Linked DNA regions of Homo sapiens: region 1 is linked to region 2. Evidence: promoter capture Hi-C in human tissues and cell types (Jung and others, 2019). All regions are on one chromosome and are shown on one strand. Each heading gives the region's core, a stretch centred on a gene start or on the middle of the fragment in contact. The rest is flanking DNA. Distances are from core to core; before and after follow the strand shown.

What was found. Contacts are between HindIII fragments. The study calls those that stand out against the background at their distance.
Region 1: a contact is called between a fragment that was not itself captured here and the fragment with the promoter of MZT2A in region 2, in 1 of the 25 tissues and cell types used here (stomach).

The regions. Positions count from the first base shown.
Region 1 is chr2:132,561,952-132,567,271 of GRCh38, forward strand. All of the region lies in intron 1 of GPR39 (G protein-coupled receptor 39), which reads left to right. Among named protein-coding and RNA genes, the nearest start is that of LYPD1, 110 kb to the right of the region's middle. The HindIII fragment of the contact is 7,792 bases long and covers 1-5,320 here.
Region 2 is chr2:131,489,866-131,495,363 of GRCh38, forward strand. MZT2A (mitotic spindle organizing protein 2A) reads right to left here and starts at 2,532. Exons shown (of 3, transcript NM_001085365.2): 1 at 2,342-2,532; 2 at 2,011-2,159. The coding sequence starts at 2,511. It overlaps MIR4784 (microRNA 4784), which reads right to left and starts at 1,371; the gene lies at 1,295-1,371. It also overlaps the pseudogene SMPD4BP. RefSeq lists enhancers at 1,863-2,656, 2,657-3,450 and silencers at 2,253-2,762, 3,283-3,472. The HindIII fragment of the contact is 8,382 bases long and covers 1-5,498 here.

The DNA.
Region 1 (5,320 bases), core at 1,950-4,449, 1.1 Mb after region 2:
AGGCCTACCTATTCAAATGTTAATCTCAACAAGAAATACCCTCGCAGACACACTCAGAATATTTGGCCAAATATCTAGGCACCCCAGTCCAGTCAAGTTAACCCAGAATATTAACTATCACAGAGAACTTTTAGCAACCTGATGTCCAGGTCACACCCCAATCTCATTGCATTCAAATTTCTGAGGGTGAGGCCCAGGCATCCATTTTTTTTTTTAAGGCTCTCCATATGATTCCATCGTGCATCCAAGGTTAAGAGCCACTGCTTTCATCTCTTCTCCCTCAGACTGATTCTTCACACTGCCACCAAAGTGGTTTTCTTAAAACTCAAATTGGATTATATTTGATCCCCTGTTCAAAAGCTTTCAATGACTTTCCATCATATTTGGGAAAATTCTTTGGCATGTTATACAAGCCTTTTTGCATGTTACACAAGGCCCTTCATGATTGGCCCTGCCTAATTCTTCAGCCTCATTCCGTGTGGGTGCATCAGGACATCGTACTCAGGCTGTTCTGATTCACCTCTCAGGATTTCTTACGGTTCTCTGCATTTGCATGGACTCATCCTTCAGTCCAGAATGCAATCTGTCCCCAGCCTATTCTCCTTCGTCTTTAAGATCCTATTTTGTCACTTACAGAAAGCCTTCTGAGACACTCTCAAGACTAGGTTAAATATTCCTTCTTTGGATACCCTAGCACCCAGTGCTGTCACCACCAAGAGGGAGCCACTGGTAGATAGTAGTAGATAGTAATAGATAGCAGGGGTTATCTACTATTTACAAAGCAGCAAAACCCAGCACACAGTATGCACTCATGTAGCACACCTGCATGAATGAAGGTATCCACCTCTTCCTACATCTCTAACTTCAGAACAAGCTCATGCAGCAACACCGAGAAAGAGTTGAAAGTTCAATGAGTTGTTAGGGCAAAAGACTTAAGTCTAAAGTACCATATATGCTGTTAGGACATTTCTCATCCTTACTCAAATCTAAATATAGCAAGTGAAAATGCAATCCCTAAAAAAGCGGCATTATTCCCAAAGAGCCTGGCAGAGCAGTGTTTGCTGCCACAGGGAAGGTGGTCCTGTCCTCTGCTCCCAGTGTTATAAAATGTGTCCTGCTACATTAAGTGCCCATGTCCACTCTGATTCCAGGGATAAGGATACAACTAAGCTAATTTTCAAAAGGGGAGTGTAGTTCATAGGATCGCACTTGCTAACACAGTGGAGCTTCACTATTGGCAGAACAACAGTTTTCAAACAGATCAGCTATTGAGAGGAGGTGATTATACTCACAGCCTCCTAATTTTATCAAAGGCCTATCAGCCACAGTATTCTTTCAAGTATGTGCTTCCCTTGAGAATGTAAAATTAGTATCCTGGCTGGGTGGGATGGCTTTTCCCTGAAATCCCAGCACTTTGGGAGGATTGCTTGAGGCCAGCCTGGGAAACATAGTGAGACCTCGTGTCTACAAAAACTAGCTCGGCATGGTGGCACGCACCTATAGTTCCAGCTACTTGGGAGGCTGAGGTAGGAGTAAAAATAAAATGAGTATCCTGTTTATAAAACTTCAGAGCATGTGAGATGGCTCATGCCTTACAAAAATGAGATCCAACAAGGTTTGAGAATCACTGGATTATGGTGAATGTGACCACCACCTGGCTATGATCAGTCATTGCCTTCCAGCTCAGAGCTTCTCAACCCTGGCTGCTTGTTAAAATCCTACCTGGGGGACTTGCAGAAATCCCAATGCTCAGGCCTTACTCCAAGCCAATTAAATGAGAACGTCTGGGAGTGGGGCCCTGGCATTGTTTTGCTGTTTTTTGGCACTGGTATTTCTGAAAGCACGCAGATGATTTAAATAGGTGGCCTGGGCTGAGGATTGCTCCTCTAACTTACTGGTTCTCAAACTTGGCTGCACATTGGAATTGCCTGGAGGTGCCTGGGTCCCCCCACCCCAACCATGGACATGGTTGTAATTGGTGTGGGATGTGACCTGGCCTCCAAGCCAGGATTTGTAAAAGCTGTTCAGTGGTTCAAACGTACAGCAAAGCCTTGAAACCACTGCTGCAAGCACATCCTCCCACAGCCTCTAACAGCCCATTTCACCTTGAAAAGAAAATCCATTGTCATAAGCAGATGAGCAACCCAACCTGTCAGGAACATATTTATCCTCCTGGCTGACTTGAGGCGGCTGAGGATCACTGAGGTGGGAGTCACCACTGAAAATAGTCACTGTGCTGGAGAGCGCTGGAGGAAATGTAATAGTGTTAGTTTACACATTAAACCCTTTGATACCAAGGGCCCTGCCACCTGCACCACCAGCCAAGCATCCCTGATTCCTGGCTGCCTTTGTGGCCCCTGTGGCCTTGGATGAGTGGCCACCCCTCCCAGGAAACATTCAGAGCACATTACAGATAATAAACAGATATGACTAATGAGCTCAATTATTGTAAATTTCTGGGTCATTTCTTATGGCATTTCCCTCCCTTCTCCTTTCATCTTATGTTCAAAATAATTTCTTTGTATTTCCCTATCAACATGTCCAACCTGAGTTGGCGCACTGCCCCGAGTAGGTAAGGAGGAGAGGACATTCTGTTTTCTCACCCCTTCCTCTGCTGACTCCCACCTCCACCTCATTTCCTCTCTGTGGCTTGTGCCAGGTGGGCCAGTACCTGCACCATCTTGAGAAAAAGTTGCTCAAAAAGATGCATGTAATATCACTCTCCACGGAGTCTTACAAATCTAACACTTTGAGGGCATAATCTTCAAAATTTCTGGTTTATTGATGAGTATTCTTATATGATTTCTCAACACATTGGAATCACCTAGGAAGCTTTAATAACTATTTTTTTCTTTTTTCTTTTTTTTTTTTTTTTTTTTTGTTGAGACAGAGTCTCGCTCTATTGCCCAGGCTGGAGTACAGTGGCATGATCTAGGCTCACCACAACCTCCACCTCCCAGGCTCAAGCAATTCTCCTGCCACAGCCTCTTGAGTAGCTGGGATTACAGGCACCTGCCACCATGCCTGGCTAATTTTTCTGTATTTTTAGTAGAGATCGGGTATCACCATGTTGGCCAGGATGGTCTCGAACTCCTGACCTCAGGTGATCCACCTGCCTCAGCCTCCCAAAGTGCTGGGATTACAGGCGTGAGTCACCACTCCTGGCCTTTAATAACTATTGATGCCATAATTGACCCACAGAGATTCTGATTTAGTGGCGTGACGATTAGCCGGGCATGGGGATTTTTTGGATGCTTCCTATGTGATTCCAGTATTTAGCCAAGTCATTTGTCAATGAGAGGGACTGAGAAAGAAGAAGCAGAAGGACACTCATAGTGAAACATCGCTCAAGTTGCAGTCTTCCTATGGACTCTCCCCTATGAACTCCCAATAGCCTTTGTCTCATTTAGATTCTTTATAAGCACAAGCAGTGAGATGAGTTTCCTTTTTTTTTTTTTTTTATTATACTTTAAGTTTTAGGGTACATGTGCACATTGTGCAGGTTAGTTACATATGTATACATGTGCCATGCTGGTGCGCTGCATCCACTAACTCGTCATCTAGCCTTAGGTATATCTCCCAATGCCATCCCTCCCCCCTCCCCCCACCCCACCACAGTCCCCAGAGTGTGATATTCCCCTTCATGTGTCCATGTGATCTCATTGTTCAATTCCCACCTATGAGTGAGAATATGCGGTGTTTGATTTTTTGTTCTTGCGATAGTTTACTGAGAATGATGATTTCCAATTTCATCCATGTCCCTACAAAGGACATGAACTCATCATTTTTTATGGCTGCATAGTATTCCATGGTGTATATGTGCCACATTTTCTTAATCCAGTCTATCATTGTTGGACATTTGGGTTGGTTCCAAGTCTTTGCTATTGTGAATAATGCTGCAATAAACATACATGTGCATGTGTCTTCATAGCAGCATGATTTATAGTCATTTGGGTATATACCCAGTAATGGGATGGCTGGGTCAAATGGTATTTCTAGTTCTAGATCCCTGAGGAATCGCCACACTGACTTCCACAATGGTTGAACTAGTTTACAGTCCCACCAACAGTGTAAAAGTGTTCCTATTTCTCCACATCCTCTCCAGCACCTGTTGTTTCCTGACTTTTTAATGATTGCCATTCTAACTGGTGTGAGATGATATCTCATAGTGGTTTTGATTTACATTTCTCTGATGGCCAGTGATGATGAGCATTTTTTCATGTGTTTTTTGGCTGCATAAATGTCTTCTTTTGAGAAGTGTCTGTTCATGTCCTTCACCCACTTTTTGATGGGGTTGTTTGTTTTTTTCTTGTAAATTTGTTTGAGTTCATTGTAGATTCTGGATATTAGCCCTTTGTCAGATGAGTAGGTTGCAAAAATTTTCTCCCATGTTGTAGGTTGCCTGTTCACTCTGATGGTAGTTTCTTTTGCTGTGCAGAAGCTCTTTAGTTTAATTAGATCCCATTTGTCAATTTTGGCTTTTGTTGCCATTGCTTAGTTTCCTAGGAGATCAGAAGCGGGGTGAGGCCACAGAAAAATCTCAAAAGCAGGTGTGTTTGTTTTCAGTGTCCTTTCATCTCTCTAGGAGTTTTGTCCTAGGGTTGCTGTCTCATTGCTCACACTACCCTCCTCTCCTCCATGACCCATGAAACGTTTTTGCAACATTGTTCGGGTGGCACAGATGCAAGAGAAAAAACTCAGTATTGGTGAGAGTGTGGGCTGGTGAAGGAGTGGGTGATTGACAGGATGTCTTGTGATGCACAAGATACTGAAGGAGCTTAGGGTAAGTGCTCCGGCTTCACGCACTGTGGTACACATAACGTTCCCTGGTCATTTCCCAATACACATTCCCTGGCCATTCTCCCTCAGCTTTCCCTCCAAGGCCTTTTCCTTCCCGTGAACATTTTTCTGTTCTGTGTTCCATACCTTCAGCGTCCTGCTGTGGGACCAGCTCTGACAGCCACAATCAATGGCCTTCCCGGGAGCCTTCTCCATTTGCCTTCTTCCTTGCTGGCTGCTGTGGTTTGAATGTTTACCCCCTCTGAAATTCATGTTGAAACTTAATCCCCAAAGTAACAGTATTAAGAAGTGGAGCCTTTGGCCAGGTGTGGTGGCTCATGCCTGTAATCCCAGCACTTTGGGAGGCCGAGGCAGGTGGATCATGATGTCAGGATTTTGAGACCAACATGGTGAAACCCCATCTCTAGTAAAAATACAAAAATTAACCGGGCATGGCGGCACATGCCTGTAATCTCAGCTACTCAGGAGGCTGAGGCAGGAGAATCGCTTGAACCCGGGAGGTGGAGGTTGCGGTGAGCCG
Region 2 (5,498 bases), core at 1,282-3,781:
TCCCTGCCACGCCCTCTGCCCTGAGAGCTAGGCCTGGCACCCAGAGCCCTGAGTGAGTGCTAAGTGAGCAGCAACATCTCCTGGAGTGACAAGAACTCTGTTCCCAGTTTCTCCCTCCTGCTGGACACTTGCCCCTCAATTGCTCATCTCAGCCTGCAGTCCATACACCCCTACTCCAGGCCTGTCCTTCAGGCCCTCTCCACCCTCTCTTGGGCCTGAGCTCTGGGTGGCAGTGAGGTGGCCGCTGTCAGGAGGCTCATGCAGGAGGCGCGACCAAAGACCCCTGGGCTCTCACAGGCCCCTGATCACACCTGGTGACACCTGGAAAGTGTCCCAACTCAGGAGTGAGGCGGGCAAGGGGGCTGAGTGCTGGAGTGTGGCCATGGGACCAGCACATGGCATCTGTGTGGCACTGCCTGGCAGACTCTGGGAAGGTGGGAGTCTCTGTTTCAGCCTCCAGACTTCCTGTCCAGGTAGGGGACAACTTCTAAGAGGCCGAGGCGTTTGTCACGCCTGGGGCTGTGCTCTCCAGCAGAGCACACTGCACCCGGCTGGCTGTCTTCCCCTGGAGAGGGGCTCTTTACACTCACCACTAGTTCGCCTCTGGGGTGTGGGGATGTTGGTCCTGTCCCCGGATGCCAGCCCGACTGTGGGGTCTAGAGACTGCCACACCATGTCTCTAATAAACCGAGTCAGAAATAGTGCCCTGTGGCTAAGCGGCAGGGCAGCGGTGGCCTGCATGATCCTGCCCTTGCAGCTCAAAGCTGCTTGGGCCTCTTGGGGCCATGCAGTTTCCATGAAAACAAGGAAGAGCACCAACCCCCAGAGATAAGCCAATAAACGCAACCTGCAAAAGGAGAGAACAGGCAGCAAGAGAGGCGGAGGGAACCCGGGGGGCCTGGAGAGAGAGGTGAGTGTGTGGCAGCTGGGCTGTGGAGCATAACCAGAGAGGCCGCAGGCTGCGGGCTGGAGGAAAACGAGGGCCTTGCAGGGGGGCTACTGTTCCTGGCAGAGAGAAAGGAGGCCTCTGGAGGTCAGAGAGAGACACAAAGAGAGCAGACAGAGCGAGGGTCAGTGAAGAGGCCAGCACGCAGGTGCCCGGGCCCTCTTGGGTCAGCGGGCGTGGGTGCCCAGGCCCTGGCACTTCCCCCATGAAGGCAGCCTGCTTTCCACGCCTTCTCATGATGCCTGTGAGGGTCTCCTCCTGCTTCCAGGCAGGGAGCCAGCTCTGGGCCTCCTTCCATTGGCCTGGGAGGTTGTGCTGCATTTCAGAGAGAGCCATCGGGAGCAGAAGCAACATGCGGAGAGGATGAGCAGGGACGGAGGCTCCACCATGACACTCTCAGTCCCAGCATCTCCTCAGCCCAGTCACCACACTGGAGAGGGAGGAGGCCCTTCAGACCCCGCAGGCCTCTGCACCCTGGGAGTTCCGCGTCTAACTCTCTTCCTGCAATCATCAGAGGCAGGAACTGGGCCCAGGTGGGGTAAAGGCAGGAAGACGTCTGCCTGCCCTGCTCCCTGGGCACTTCCCTGGATGCTGTATACCACAGGACAGAGATCGAGACTGTCTTTTGAAAAACATTTAGAGACAGGATCTCACCCTGTCACCCAGACTGGTCTCAAACTCATGGCCTCAAAGGATCCTCCCGCCGTGGGGTCCCAAAGATTATAGGCGTGAGCCACGGCGCCCAGCCCCAAACCGTCTTGATTCCCGACTTTGTAGGATGAAGGCCTGAGTGAAGAGGTGGGGAGGAGCTAAGCGGAGGAGCCCTACCCAGCCTGGACCACCCTGGGGCACGCACTCTGCGTCCACCTGACCTGGACGTGCCTCCTAAGGCTGGCAGCGAAGCCCAGGAGCAGAGCCCACGGATGGGCCCTGCAGGTGCTGGGCCTAGACCGACCGACAGACAGGCCTGGCCACTCAGGGCCACGCCGCCGCTGTGCCGCGCCTGCCCCCTCCCCGCCCGCCACCCCCGCCACTGGGGCAGGGACAGCGGGCCCAGCTCTGACCTCGGGTCTCGGGCACGCTCGACGTGGGCAGAGACACGGCCGCAGGGTCCTGGGGCTCGCTCGCTAGCCTCTGCCCGGCACACATGGACTTGAGCATCTGGAAGACGGCGAGGGGGGCCACGTTCAGCTTCAGCAGGTCCACCAGGATCCTGGCGGGGACAGACGCGGGGCCGGTGAGCCCTCTCCGCCCGGCGCGGCCACCTCCCTGAAGACCGGACAAGGACGGGGGCGGGGGCAGCGGGGGCTCCTCCCGACCAGCGGGCCGGGCGTACCCGGAGAGCAGAGGTCGGGGGTGTCTGGCGAGCATGCGGCCCCCACCCGCCCCGCTCACTTGAACACGTCGGGGTCGATACCGCCGCCCGCCGCCTGAGCCAGCTCGTACAGCTCCATCTCCTCGGTGCTCAGCACCTTCTTGCGCCGCAGCGCCAGCTTCTGCCGGGCCGCCTCCAGCCCCGGGGGCGCCGCCGACCCCGGCCCAGGCCCTACGCCCTGCGCCGCCATCCGCGAGGCCCGCCGAAAGGTGCGCCCCGCCCCGCCGCGCCCCCTAGCGGATGCGCCCACCGCCCTCTCCCTGCAGCGCCAGCGTCTGGCCTCCCGGGCTGCCCTGGCGGGAGCGGCGGGAGCGCGGGGACGGGGCCGCCTCCTCGGCGTCATTGGAGCCCAACAGTTAGTGGGCGCTCACGGTGTGCTGAGCGGCGCGCTAGGCGTCGGGAGTGGCATGGCGGACTGCAGGGGCCAGCTGCTTGGCGGTCAGGGCGTCCCTGATAGACTTGCATTGGTCGTGCTCGCTTAGGTGGCAGCACCCAGCCCAGTGCCAGGCATACATTGGGCGCTCAGTCAATACCTGTTTCAAGAAAGCGTGCAATTTTCTGGTCCGCACCGGTGCACCACTAGGGGTCGCTCTTCGGGGGGGGTGGGGGGCACTAATCAACAACCCTGCTTACGCGCACGCGCATTCCTTGCTAGGGAGAAAGTGCGTGAGCCCTACCTTGGGGCGCCAGAGGCCGCCACAACGCAGGCGCATTCAGCTAAGGACCACTCCCTCCCCCCGCACTCCTGCCTCGCCATTTCCCCTCCCTGGCCGGCCGGCCGGCCTTCTTCGCTTTGCGCACGTACCTTTTGAGGTAACGGCCCAAAGAGGTAGAAGCGCTTTTCCCGCCCGGCCGCGGGGCGTGGCTCTGCGCGCAGCTTGATGACGACGTTTTGGCGCGGTGGCGGAATGGCGGCTTCCACCTCTGAAGCGGGCGACGCTATGGGTCCCACAGGTGAGTGGCGCGGGACGCGCGCGTGAGACGGTCCGACGCCCTGGGGGCTTCCGCGAGCCCCTGCGGAGGCCATCTCCGTTCCTCCGCGAGCCCCAGGACTCGGGCGGCCCGGCGGCTCTGCCCAGGCCGGGCAGGCTGGGGAGTGGAGGGCCCCGGCTGAGTCTTCCTGCCACTCCTCTGGGCCATGCCTTTGTGCCACCTTCCCGCGCCGCTCGTACACTCTGTTCTGGTCCGGTAGGTGTTCGTTGAAGGTTACCCGTCGTTGAAGGAATTGAGGGAAGGAGAGCTTTGTGTTGAAATTGAGCCTTGGGCTCAACAGGCGGTGTGGGAGGAAGAGCCGGGTGTGGGTCCCAGCTCGACCCTTCCCCTGTGCGCTCCACATCTCCGAGCCTTGGTTTCGGAGGCTCCCGAAGCCCAATTCGCAGGAGAGTTGGAAACAAGTGGGCGCGTGCTGTTAAGGGAGGTCTTGGCATGACAGAATTTGCTTGGAATGATTAGCGTTGCCCAAGGGCTGTCGCTGTCAGAAAAACAAAACAAAACGAAACAAAAAAAACAAACGGGTCCGAAGCAGCTCCTGGAGAAAATAGGTGTTGGAGAGTCGCGACGAAGTGGACTCTAGGTGCATGGCACGCAGAGACCTGTGACGGGGGAGGGTGGCCATGGCAGGGTCAGAGAACAGGGGTGTGGGAGACACCTCTTGGGAGTTCTCGGGTTTGAATTTCCTCTCTTGGAAAGTTCCTAGAAATTCCTCTGGGCCTCATTCTTTCAGTCGCTGCCCATGAAAGCTTTTACTGAGCAGAGATGCTCTCCCCTTCATCATCTCTAGAGCTCCGCACTTATCCAGCAGTCCACAGTTTAATGCTGCTTTGATCATTTTGCAGTAGTGCAGTGTTTTCTTGACCAAGTGCATTAGGACTGAGGCGTTTTTCTTTAACACTGCAATTGATAGCTAGGTTAAGAATTGAGGCCGGGCGCGGTGGCTCACGCCTGTAATCCCAGCACTTTGGGAGGCCCAGGCGGGTGGATCACGAGGTCACGAGTTCAAGACCAGCTTGGCCAAGATGGTGAAACCTCGTCTCTAGTAGAAAATACAAAAATTAGCCGGGCGTGGTAGCGGGCGCGTGTAATCCCAGCCACTTGGGAGGCTGAGGCAGAGAATTGCTTGCACCCGGGAGGCGGAGGTTGCAGTGAGCTGAGATGGCGCCACTGCACTCCAGCCTGTGCGACAGAGCGCAGAGCGAGACTCCGTCTCAAAAAAAAAAAAGGAAAAGAGAAAGCTGGCCGGGCGCGGTGGCTCACGCCTGTAATCCCAGCACTTTGGGAGGCTGAGGCGGGCTTATCACGAAGTCAGGATATCTAGACCATCCTGGCTAACATGTGAAACCCACTCTACTAAGTAAATACAAAAGACAATTAGCCGGGCGTGGTGGCCGGCGCCTGTAGTCCCAGCTACTCGGGAGGCTGAGGCAGGAGAATGGCGTGAACCCAAGCGGAGCTTGCAGTGAGCCAAGATAGCACCACTGGACTCCAGCCTGGGCGACAGAGTGAGACTCCGTCTCAAAAAAAAAAAAAAAAAAAATTGAAAAAACTTGGGAGATGTTCCTATTGCCAAGTGGCAGAGAGGCAGAGATTCCTGTCTCCTCTCACTCTACAACTGCCTACATGGCCTCTTTACACCCAGCCTCTCTTCCTCCACAGACTGCCAGGTGCCACCCCAGTGCCGTTACTTGTGCAGTGGGCAGAGCTGGGCCAGGAAAACTGTAACTAGGCCACCAGTGGGACTTGGCAGACTTCCTGTCTGTGAAGTCTAGGTCTGAGCATTTTTTATTTTTGACCTGGGTGAGCTGAGAGGTAGGAATCTGGAAAGCTGATCTTAGTTTTCTTTCCTTTTTTTCTTCCATTTTTTGAGACAGAGTTTCCCTCTGTCACCCCGGCTGGAGTGCAATGGTGTGATCTTTGCTCACTGCAACCTCCACCTCCTGGGCTCAAGCATTTCTCATGCCTCAGCCTCCCGAGTCGCTGGGACTACAGGTGCCCGCCACCACACCCAGCTAATTTTTGTATTTTTAGTAGAGATGGGGTTTTGCCTTGTTGGCTACACTGGTCTCGAACTCCTGGCCTCAAGTGATCTGCCCACCGTGGCCTCCCAAAGTGCTGGGATTACAGGTGTGAGCCATGGCGCCCGGCCTTTGATCCTAGTTTTCTGATGGCTTATTCAAAGGC